Linked DNA regions of Homo sapiens: all the other regions are linked to region 1. Evidence: promoter capture Hi-C in 16 types of primary human blood cells and fetal thymus (Javierre and others, 2016). All regions are on one chromosome and are shown on one strand. The core of a region is centred on a gene start or on the middle of the fragment in contact, and the rest is flanking DNA. Distances in the headings are between cores, read along the strand shown. Region 1 holds the start of TXNDC8 (thioredoxin domain containing 8). Region 2 overlaps LOC105376219 (a long non-coding RNA gene). Region 3 has its middle 25 kb from the start of OR2K2.

Region 1 (3,211 bases), core at 191-2,690:
ATATACCTAATGTTAAATGACGAGTTACTGGGTGCAGCACACCAACATGGCACATGTATACATTTGTAACTAACCTGCACATTGTGCACATGTACCCTAAAACTTAAACTATAATAAAAAAAATTTTTTTGTTAATACGTGTATTAGTCTCTTTTCACGTTGCTGATAAAGACATACCCAAGTCTAGGTAATTTATAAAGAAAAAGAGGTTTAATAGATTCACAGTTCCATGTGGCTGGGGAGGCCTCACAATTCTGGCAGAAGGTGAAAGTCACGTCTTACATGGCAGCAGGCAAGAGAGAATGAGAGCCAAGCAAATGGGGAAACGTCTTATAAAACCATCAGATCTCATGAGATGTATTCACTACCATGAGAACAGTATGGAAGAACTGCCCCCATTATTCAATTATCTCCCACCGGTCCCTCCCACAACCCTTGGGAATTATGGGAGCTACAATTCAAGATGAGATTTGAGTGGGGACACAGCCAAACCATATCAATACATAATACTTCTACGTATTTATGGGGTACATGTGATATTTTGTTACATGCATACTTCAAATACCTCTACAGAGGCAGCCACTGTCTCCATCTGACAGTTTTCATGCAACACATGATTGAAGGCCCAGAGCTGCATATATAGAAAAACAGAAAGAAGGATTTTGCTATTTTTGTTTTATTATAGAATCTACTATTTCTCATTTTGGTTGTTCTTGTTGCTCTGTAGATTTGAAGAACATTGGCCATGGTCATGTTCAGAATTTTTCTGACATCAGTTCTGAAAATGGCAAATCATCAAGTGCAGGGGTCAGCAAACTGCTGCTGTTCTTTGTACATCCTACTAGCTGCGAATGGTTTTTACATTTTTTAAAGGTTGCAAAAACATAAGGAACATGCAACAAAGACTGTATGAGGCCCATAAAACTAAAATAGTATCTGTTCCCTTAGAGAAAACATTTGCCAACCCTTGATCTAGAGCATAAAAGTGACATTTCTTTACTCTCTAAATAATTAGAGCAAAATAACAAAGTTCAGGGAATTTATGACTCATGAAATCAAACTTACAGGAAACTCATTATTATAGGGTTAAGACTTTAGTATTTTTCTCAACAGCAAAATCTTCAAATTCTTAAGTGAAAATCTCATCTATTTAATATTACTCTGCTTACTTCTCATTTGGTGATGGGATGGAGGGATTAGAGAAGGGAGAAGGATATTTAGAAATAGGTTATAAAAGATGAAAATAAAGCAAACACATTACTGATTCTGCATATAAAGCCCTCAGTTTTCTGATTCTTGGCTGTCCACAAATGAACTAGTCATGGCATAAAAGTGAAATAGGATCCAAAGTCTGCCAAAGTTCCAGGTTCTGAGATGACATGTTTAATGATGTCATAGAGAAGTTATCCATGTATTCCAGGCAGGATACTGTAATAAATAGGAGACAGCTACAGTGATCCAACTAAACCAACAGGGGATTTTCATCAGCACTTCCCTGGTGTAATCATGGTACAGATTATTAAAGACACGGCAAGTATTTATTTGGCTTCACTGAGTATTTCAAATGTGGACATCTTGGGAACAGATTTGAAAAACTTTAAGAATGTGTTCTCTCTATCCAGTATTCTATCATTGCATTGTAGCAAGGGGAGAGTTCTAAATTCTTGTTCTTTATCTTGTTCCTTGAGGGATGGTACTATCAAGAAAAGCAGCCAAGGGTCAAATTGATAAAGAAGGGCTTTCTTCCTCCTGGACTTTTATTTCCTGCCTGACTTCAGGTGAATCCCAGACCAGCTCCTAGTACATCCCATCCTGTATCTGATCCCATGGATCGTACCTCAGTTGTGCTTGGAAAATTCCATGGAAGTAAGGAAGTCCACATCTTTTCTCTTATCCAAGGAAAAATAATAGAAACCCCAGATGTGGAATGGGGTGGGAAAATTGGGAACAGCCCAATGTTGCTGTCACAACAAATCTAAATTCATGTATAGGACAGAGATAATTCTTGATTTATAAAGGAGAAAATTGCCTCTAAAAGAGAGGTTCAGGGCTAGTTCGTTTAAGAGGTGGTGTGGGCATTAGAACCCAGACCTTCTGATGCCTGCCCTCATTACAAGAAGTCAAGAGCTGGAGGAGGGGAGGGGGTTTGGGGCCTGAGCCTCATGTCCACCAGCAGCCTCAGATTTAGACTTGTGACATTTTCCCCAAAGGTGGCTATACAGATCACAAAAATGACACTGACCAGATTGAAAGAGAGTACTGCCCTGTAACTTCGACATAAGAACATGTTTTGAAACATCACACATTTGCTAATGCTTTTGACACTTATTGTTTTAATATTCTGGGGATGTCACAGAATAGCCTGGAGCCTTATTCCCTCAGAAGACCTTTCATCTCCTCCCCAGGGACCTTTCCAGAGGCCCTGATCTCCATCCCATCTTTATTCAGATGCCACCTTCTCTTTGAGGTTGACCTTGGCCATCCAGACTACAGTTGTAATCCAACCCCCATTCTTCCTTCCTACTTCATTTTCTTTTTATTTTCTTTATTAGCAATTAGCACTAATATACTACAAATATTACCTATTGACCTTATAGTAAGCTTCCCATTCTAAAATGTAAACTCCATGGAGACAGAATGCCTAGTTTTTGTTTTGTTTTGTTTTGTTTTTGTCCACAGTGGTATCCTAGCAGTTTGTGCAGTAGCTGGCATAGTATAGGCCTCAATACGCATATGTTAAATAAATACCTATACTATGAGAGTATTCCCTTCAGATAGTTTAGTCAAGTCAAGTTCATGGGTCCAATTAGGCCAGCTCACACCCAAACAACAACTACTGGAAAGTGAAGAGTGTTGGGAGTTTGTGAGGATAGCATCTACCTTACAACTTCAGAAGCAAGTGAGAAATAAAGGCTTGGCAAGGTTCTCTGAAAAGTTAGTTACTCCCTCCCAGAGGAATATTGATAAAGAAAGAGAGTGCATCTTCTTTGAGTCATCACTTTCACCTGATTGAAACTAAACAAAGTAGCCACATAATTGTCAAGGCTATTATAGAGCAGGCATGTTGTATTAGTCTATTTGCATACTGCTATGAAGAAATGCCCAATACTTGGTAATTTATAAAGAAAAAAAGATCTAATGAACTCACGGTTCCACATGGCTGGGAAGACCTCACAATCATGGTGAAGGCGAAGGAGGGGCAAAGGCATGT
Region 2 (3,233 bases), core at 126-2,625, 940 kb before region 1:
CTTGTGCATTTTTTAAAAATAAAAAATCAATGTCCCTTGGTAGTCACTTTCTGAACTTTCTAGAGCTTACATCTGTTCCAAGTCCTCTTTTTGGCGGTACTAATTTTTATTTCTTGTTATGGAGACAGCATTTTTTTTTTTAATGTGAGGGACAATTCCTTGAAGAGCTCTGATAATGCTCATTCAAGTTCTTACCATGAACAGTGGGCCGGAGTATATGTATATTGCCGTGGTTAAAGTATATAACTTTAATATACATTCACAGTTTTTATTATCTTCTTGTACAGTTTTGAAATTCTCATGTCTGAAAGCATGTTTTGTCTCATCACATCTTAAACTCTTGGACCTATTCTCAGGATGGACTTAAGGACAATAAGAATTTATCTGCTCATTGCCGTATTTACAATTCATCACAATTAATTTCATTTGATATAAAACAGATTCTGAAAGAAACTTTTTCAATTTTAACATGTTTGGATACTTCATGAAAAAAAAGCCATACAGAAGCTAGAAAGAGGGGGTAGATCTGGAGAGTGAGAAGAAATTATATATTCTGATTGCAGGCTCTATGGGGGAGAGGGGAGGGAGGGAAAGAGAGAGAGACAGAGGGAGAGAGAGAGAGAGAGAATGAATAAATCCTAGATAGTAGGTGCTGAGATCTGAAACTTCCTTGAATCCAGTCATCCTTGTGCTGAGTGTTTCCTGGGGAAAATGATGCTTGCAGGTGCGTATAAGGTCAAAATAAGTAAGGCACAGGGTTGAGTCTGAGCTATTGGTTGAGAGTTCTAAGAATCTGTGAACCCAAATGATATGGACCACATCCAAGCATGTGGCTGTGTTTCCTCTTTTATTTTTTGCCCAATAAAGTCAACAGTTGCACAAGTGGTAAATTATTGGTTAATGATGTCCAGGTACTCACAATCTGCCTACACGTATTGCTTATCTTTTAGCCTTGGGTTCTGTACTACTTGGGTGAATAAACTTCAGATGACATCTGTTGCCATTGGTAGAAAAGCCTGAACTAAGGGGTCTATGCCTGGAAGTGGAGCACAGTTATCACAAAACTAATGGGTTGGCTGGGCGCAGTGGCTCATGTCTGTAATCCCAGCACTTTGGGAGGCCGAGACGTGTAGATCACCTGAGGTCAGGAGTTCCAGACCAGCCCGGCCAACATAGCGAAACCTCGTCTCTACTAAAAATACAAAAATTAGCCAGGCATGGTGGCATGTGCCTGTAATCCCAGCTACTAGGGGGTGCTGAGGCAGTAGGCTCACTTGAACCTGGGAGGCGGAGGTTGCAGTGAGCCGAGATTGAGCCACTGTACTCCAGCTTGGGCAACAGAGTGTGACTCTGTCTTAAAAAAAAAAATGCTGATGGGTTGCAAGATTTTGATAGAAGTGTGGGCCCATTTTGCCATAAATTTATCAGGAAAAAAAGCTGGATCATACCTAAGTTACCGAACCACCTGGGCTTCACTAGTGACCTTATGTGGCAGTGTCAGCCCGAGAGGCAGTAGGGTATGGGGCCATCTGGTAGACAAAATTTTCTCTCTGGCTCCGTCCATGTTCCTGCAAAGGACATGATCTCACTCTTTTTTATGGCTGCCTAGTATTTCATGGTGTATATGTACCACATTTTCTTTATCCAGTCTACCTTTGATGGACATTTAGGTTAATTCCACGTCTTTGCTATTGTGAATAGTGACACAATGAACATATGCATACATGCATCTTTATGATATAACAATTTCTTTTCCTTTTATACATCCAGTAATGGGATTGCTGGATCGAATGGTAGTTCTGTTTCTAGCTCTTTGAGGAATCACCACACTGCTTTCCATAATGGTTGAATTGATTTACGCTCCCACCAATGGTGCATAAGTGTTCTCTTTTCTCCACAACCTTGTCAGCATTTGTTATTTTTTGACTTGTTAATAATAGCCATTCTGGCTGGTGTGAGATGGTATCTCCTTGTGGTTTTGATTTGCATTTCTCTAATGATGAGTGATATTGAGCTTTTTTTCATATGCTTGTTGGCCACATCTATATCTTCTTTGGAAGTGTCTGTTTTGTGTCCTTTGTCCACTTTTTAATGGGGTTGCTTGTTTTTTTCTTATAAATTTGTTTAAATTCCTGATAGATGCTGGATACTAGACCTTTATCAGATGCATAGTTTGCAAATATTTTCTCCCATTCTGTAGGTTGTCTGTTTTCTCTGTTTCTTTTGCTGTGCAGAAGCTCTTTTGTTTGATTAAATCCCATTTGTCAATTTTTGCTTTTGTTGCAATTACTTTTGGCATCTTTGTCATGAACTCTTTGCCTGTTCCTATGTCCAGAATGGTATTGCCTGGATTGTCTTCCAGGGTTTTTATAGTTTTGGGTTATACATTTAAGTCTTTAATCCATCTTGAGTTGATTTTCGTATATGGGGTAAGGAAGAGGTCCAATCTTCTGCATATGGCTAGCCAGTTATCCCAGTACCATTTATTGAATAGGGAGTCCTTTCCTCATTGCTTGTTTTTATCAGCTTTGTCAAAGATCAGATGGTTGTAGATGTATGTCCTTATTTCTGGGCTTTCTGTTTTGTTCCTTTGGCCATTATCCTTAGCAAACTAACACAGGAACAGAAAATCAAATACTGCATGTTCTTACTTATAAGTGGGAGCTAAATGATGACAACACATGGACACAAAGACGGGAACAACAGGCGCTGGGGCCACCTTGAGGGTGGAGGGTGGGAGGAGGGAGAGGATCAGAAAAAATAACTATTGGGTACTAGGCTTAGCATCTGGGTGACAAAATAATCTGTACAAAAAACCTCTGTGACATGAGTTTATTTATATAACAAACTTGCACATGTACCCCTGAACCTAAAATAAAAGTTATTTTTTTTTTCTCTCTCTAAAAGGCATTTGTAACCAGGAATGAAGCTTTGAATTGAACAGTCAATTCTTGGGGTTGGTGGACTTATCTTGGATGTGATAGTGGTGTGTTGAAGGAGGAAGAATAAAAGGCATGCTTTAAAGAGAGATGAAGGATTCAAAAATAAGTGACTTTGTTTTATATCCTAAGCTACTAAAGCAGGAACTATCTGTTGCATAATATTAATTCTATGAGATTTTCCTTAAAACTGGAAAGCAGAGAAATCACTTTCCAATTGTAAAGGATGTTTATGTTTTTAATTATTACATTCAATCTAGAATATGTAAAAATCCCATAAAAGGGTAAAATGTC
Region 3 (3,173 bases), core at 560-3,059, 970 kb before region 1:
CAGTAATGGAGGAAAATATAGCCCTGCCTGTGGGAAGGAGGTGAATTTCTTCCAAATGCTTGAGAGTTCTGCTTTGAGATGGGCAGAAATCAGCACTAAGTAGAAGGGATTGCATAGGTTATTTTTGTGGATTGTGGAAGCCCAGACATTTATTTCCTGCCTTTCTCTGCTTCAGTGTGGATAACATTCACCTGGGGAGCTTGTTATAAATGAAGACTCCTGGGCCTCATTCTCAGTAATTCTGATTCAGTAGACCTGTGGTGGAACCTAAGAAACTGCACTTTATGAGCACGCCAGTTGATTACACAATGCACGTAGTTCAAAGGCCACATTTCGAGGGACAGAGTTCTAGAGTAAAGTCCACCGTTTCCAGCAGAAACATTGCACTCACTCTCATCCCCCTATGAAACTTCATAGTATTGGCAATATATAATATAAAGCAAATTTCTTAAAGTTGAGAGTGACTTTTTTTGTTTTTGAGACTGAGTTTCACTCTTGTTGCCCAGGCTGGAGTGCAATGGCACGATCTCAGCTCACCACAACTTCCACCTCCCGGGTTCAGGTGATTCTCCTGCCTCAGCCTCCTGATTAGCTGGGATTACAGACACGTGCCACCACGCCTGGCTAATTTTGTGTTTTTAGTAGATAAAGGTTTGGTAGAGAAACCTCCATGTTGGTCAGGCTGGTCTCGAGCTCCTGACCTCAAGTGATCCTCCCCTCTTGGCCTCCCAAAGTGCTGGGATTATAGGCATGAGCCACCGCGCCCGGCCGAGAGTGACACTTTTATGCCACTCTTTTATGGACCCTTTTATGAACACTTTCAACTACTCTCACTTCTCAGTATTTCATTGTTACTCAAAAGGAGAAATCAATTTCACCTGGAATCCACTTCAAATTCCCCTTAGGAAACTTTCTGAGAAGAAAAGTTTTCTTACTAATAAGTCCCAGTTGTATTTGTACACACTCACTCCTATGCTATTGCCTACCCTCGGGTCTGAGTCTCATGGTATCTTATTTAACCTGTGAACAATTCCAGGGCAGCAATGCCTCTTGTTTCTAACCTGTAATGAAGTCTCTTGAAACTCAGCTCCCTCCAGAACAGTGAGGATTAGTCTATAACTTGTACTTGGTGTAGTGGGAATACCGTCATAATGAACTGAGGTGCCAAAGAAAAAGAAAAGCATTATGATTGTGTTGGTTTGGTATATTTTGTCAACAAAGACATACTCTTGGGCTATTTGCAGAGCTAAGCCAATTGGCTGCTTCTCCCAGAAGGCCACAGGAAGGTCTTCTGAGAGGACTGGTGAAGTGAGAGACAGGCTAGGTGGAGGGGCTGCATGCATTTTACTGCTCCCTGGGCAAAGAAGCCCTTCCCAGTAGGACTCCAGCTCCTTTCCCCATCTTCCATTCTTCTGCCTCTAATGCACCTGCAGATTAACCAAAATATTTTCTTTTATCTTCATGCTCTATTGTTCAATTGTTAGGGAAGAATGATTCCTAAACATTGTATTAATATTAGCACAGTGCCCAGGACAAGTCAAGGGCTAGTTCCGTTCTACCCTGCATCGGTCAGAACTATTTCCACTGTGTCTGCTAAGTTGAGTTGGAATATACCACCTACTTTAGTAATTATTCTGAGCAGTCCTGGTCCACAGGAGGCTACTCCTAGTACCAGATTGCCTGCCAGCTGTGCTTAGAGGAAACGAATTTAGGTATGGCATCAAAATCCATTTTAATTTCCTTTCTAGTATTTGTTGTCTTTCAGCCGTAGGCCAAAGTTAGCAATGGATGAAATTTACATCTAGAGAGTAGCATTCCTATTTACAAGACACACTGATAAAAATGGGGGCTGTGCCATATTTTATGCAAATATTTCCTGAGTACATTATCCTTAAAAAATTATTTCAGGTTTTGTTGTTTTTTTTTTATTGTACTTTAAGTTCTAGGGTACATGTGCACAACGTGCAGGTTTGTTACATATGTGTACATGTGCCATGTTGGTGTGCTGCACCCATTAACTCGTCATTTACATTAGGTATATCTCCTAATGCTATCGCTCCCCCCTCCCCCCACCCCATGACAGGCCCCGGTGTGTGATGTTCCCCACCCTGTGTCCAAGTGTTCTCATTGTTCAATTCCCACCTATGAGTGAGAACATGCGGTGTTTGGTTTTCTGGCCTTGCGATAGTTTGCTCAGAATGTTGGTTTCCAGCTTCATCCATGTCTCTACAAAGGACATGCACTCATCCTTTTTTATGGCTGCATAGTATTCCATGGTGTATATGTGCCACATTTTCTTAATCCAGTCTATCACTGATGGACATTTGGGTTGGTTCCAAATCTTTGCTTTTGTGAATAGTGCCACAATAAACATACGTGTGCATGCGTCTTTATAGCAGCATGATTTATAATCCTTTGGGTATATTTTTAAATAGTACAAGCAGTGGGCTGGGTGCAGTGGCTCATGCCTGTAATCCCAGCACTTTGGGAGGCTGAGGTGGGAGGTTTGCTTGAGCCTAGGAGTTTGAGACCAGCCTGGGTGACATAGGGAGACCCTGTCTCTACAAATAATTAAAAAGTTAGCTGGGCATAGTGACGTGCACCTGTGGTCCCAGCTACTCGGGAGGCTGAGGTGGGAAGATTGCCTGAGCACAGGAGGTCAAGGCTGCAGTGAGTCGTGATACTCCCACTGCACTTTAGCCTGGGCAACAGAGTAAGAGCCTGTCTCTAAATAAATAAGTATGTAAATAAATAGCTAGCATAAGCAATGAACCAATATATTCTTGTAAAAACCACTAAAGTGATATGCTTTACCAGAGTTCTCCTTTGACCCCATTCCCACCCCATCCCAGCCATACTCCTAGAGTTAATTTCTCTAATTAGTTTGGCATGTATCTCTCTGGACCTTTCTTAAGTCATATTATAATAGTTCTCAACTTTACTGTGTTTGAGCATCACCTGGTGTTATGGGCTAAATCGTGTCTTCCCAGAATTTATCTGTTGAAGCCCTTGTCCCTAGTACCTCAGAATGTAATTATTTGGCAATAGGGCTTTTAAAGAGGTGATTGAGTTAAAATGAGGTTCTGATTCATACAAAGCAATATTAAAATTATGACATACTCTCAGAATATCATGCTGTAATTAAAAATGATGTATATCTGTATTTATTCAAC

The links. Contacts are between HindIII fragments. The CHiCAGO score rates a contact against its expected background, and 5 or more counts as called.
Region 2: a contact is called between a fragment that was not itself captured here and the fragment with the promoter of TXNDC8 in region 1, in 1 of 17 cell types (endothelial precursors). The highest score is 5.2, in endothelial precursors.
Region 3: a fragment that was not itself captured here is called in contact with the fragment with the promoter of TXNDC8 in region 1 in 1 of 17 cell types (neutrophils); the score reaches 5.9 in neutrophils.

The regions. Positions count from the first base shown.
Region 1 is chr9:110,336,092-110,339,302 of GRCh38, reverse strand. It overlaps TXNDC8 (thioredoxin domain containing 8), which reads left to right and starts at 1,440. Exons shown (of 6, transcript NM_001424031.1): 1 at 1,440-1,530. The coding sequence starts at 1,507. It overlaps LOC124902245 (a long non-coding RNA gene), which reads right to left and starts at 3,099. Exons shown (of 2, transcript XR_007061728.1): 1 at 1,066-3,099; 2 at 661-778. The HindIII fragment of the contact is 4,418 bases long and covers 1-2,603 here.
Region 2 is chr9:111,279,766-111,282,998 of GRCh38, reverse strand. All of the region lies in intron 1 of LOC105376219 (a long non-coding RNA gene), which reads left to right. Among named protein-coding and RNA genes, the nearest start is that of MIR7702, 10 kb to the right of the region's middle. The HindIII fragment of the contact is 3,113 bases long and covers 1-2,931 here.
Region 3 is chr9:111,303,272-111,306,444 of GRCh38, reverse strand. No RefSeq gene overlaps it. Among named protein-coding and RNA genes, the nearest start is that of OR2K2, 25 kb to the left of the region's middle. The HindIII fragment of the contact is 6,759 bases long and covers 1-3,173 here.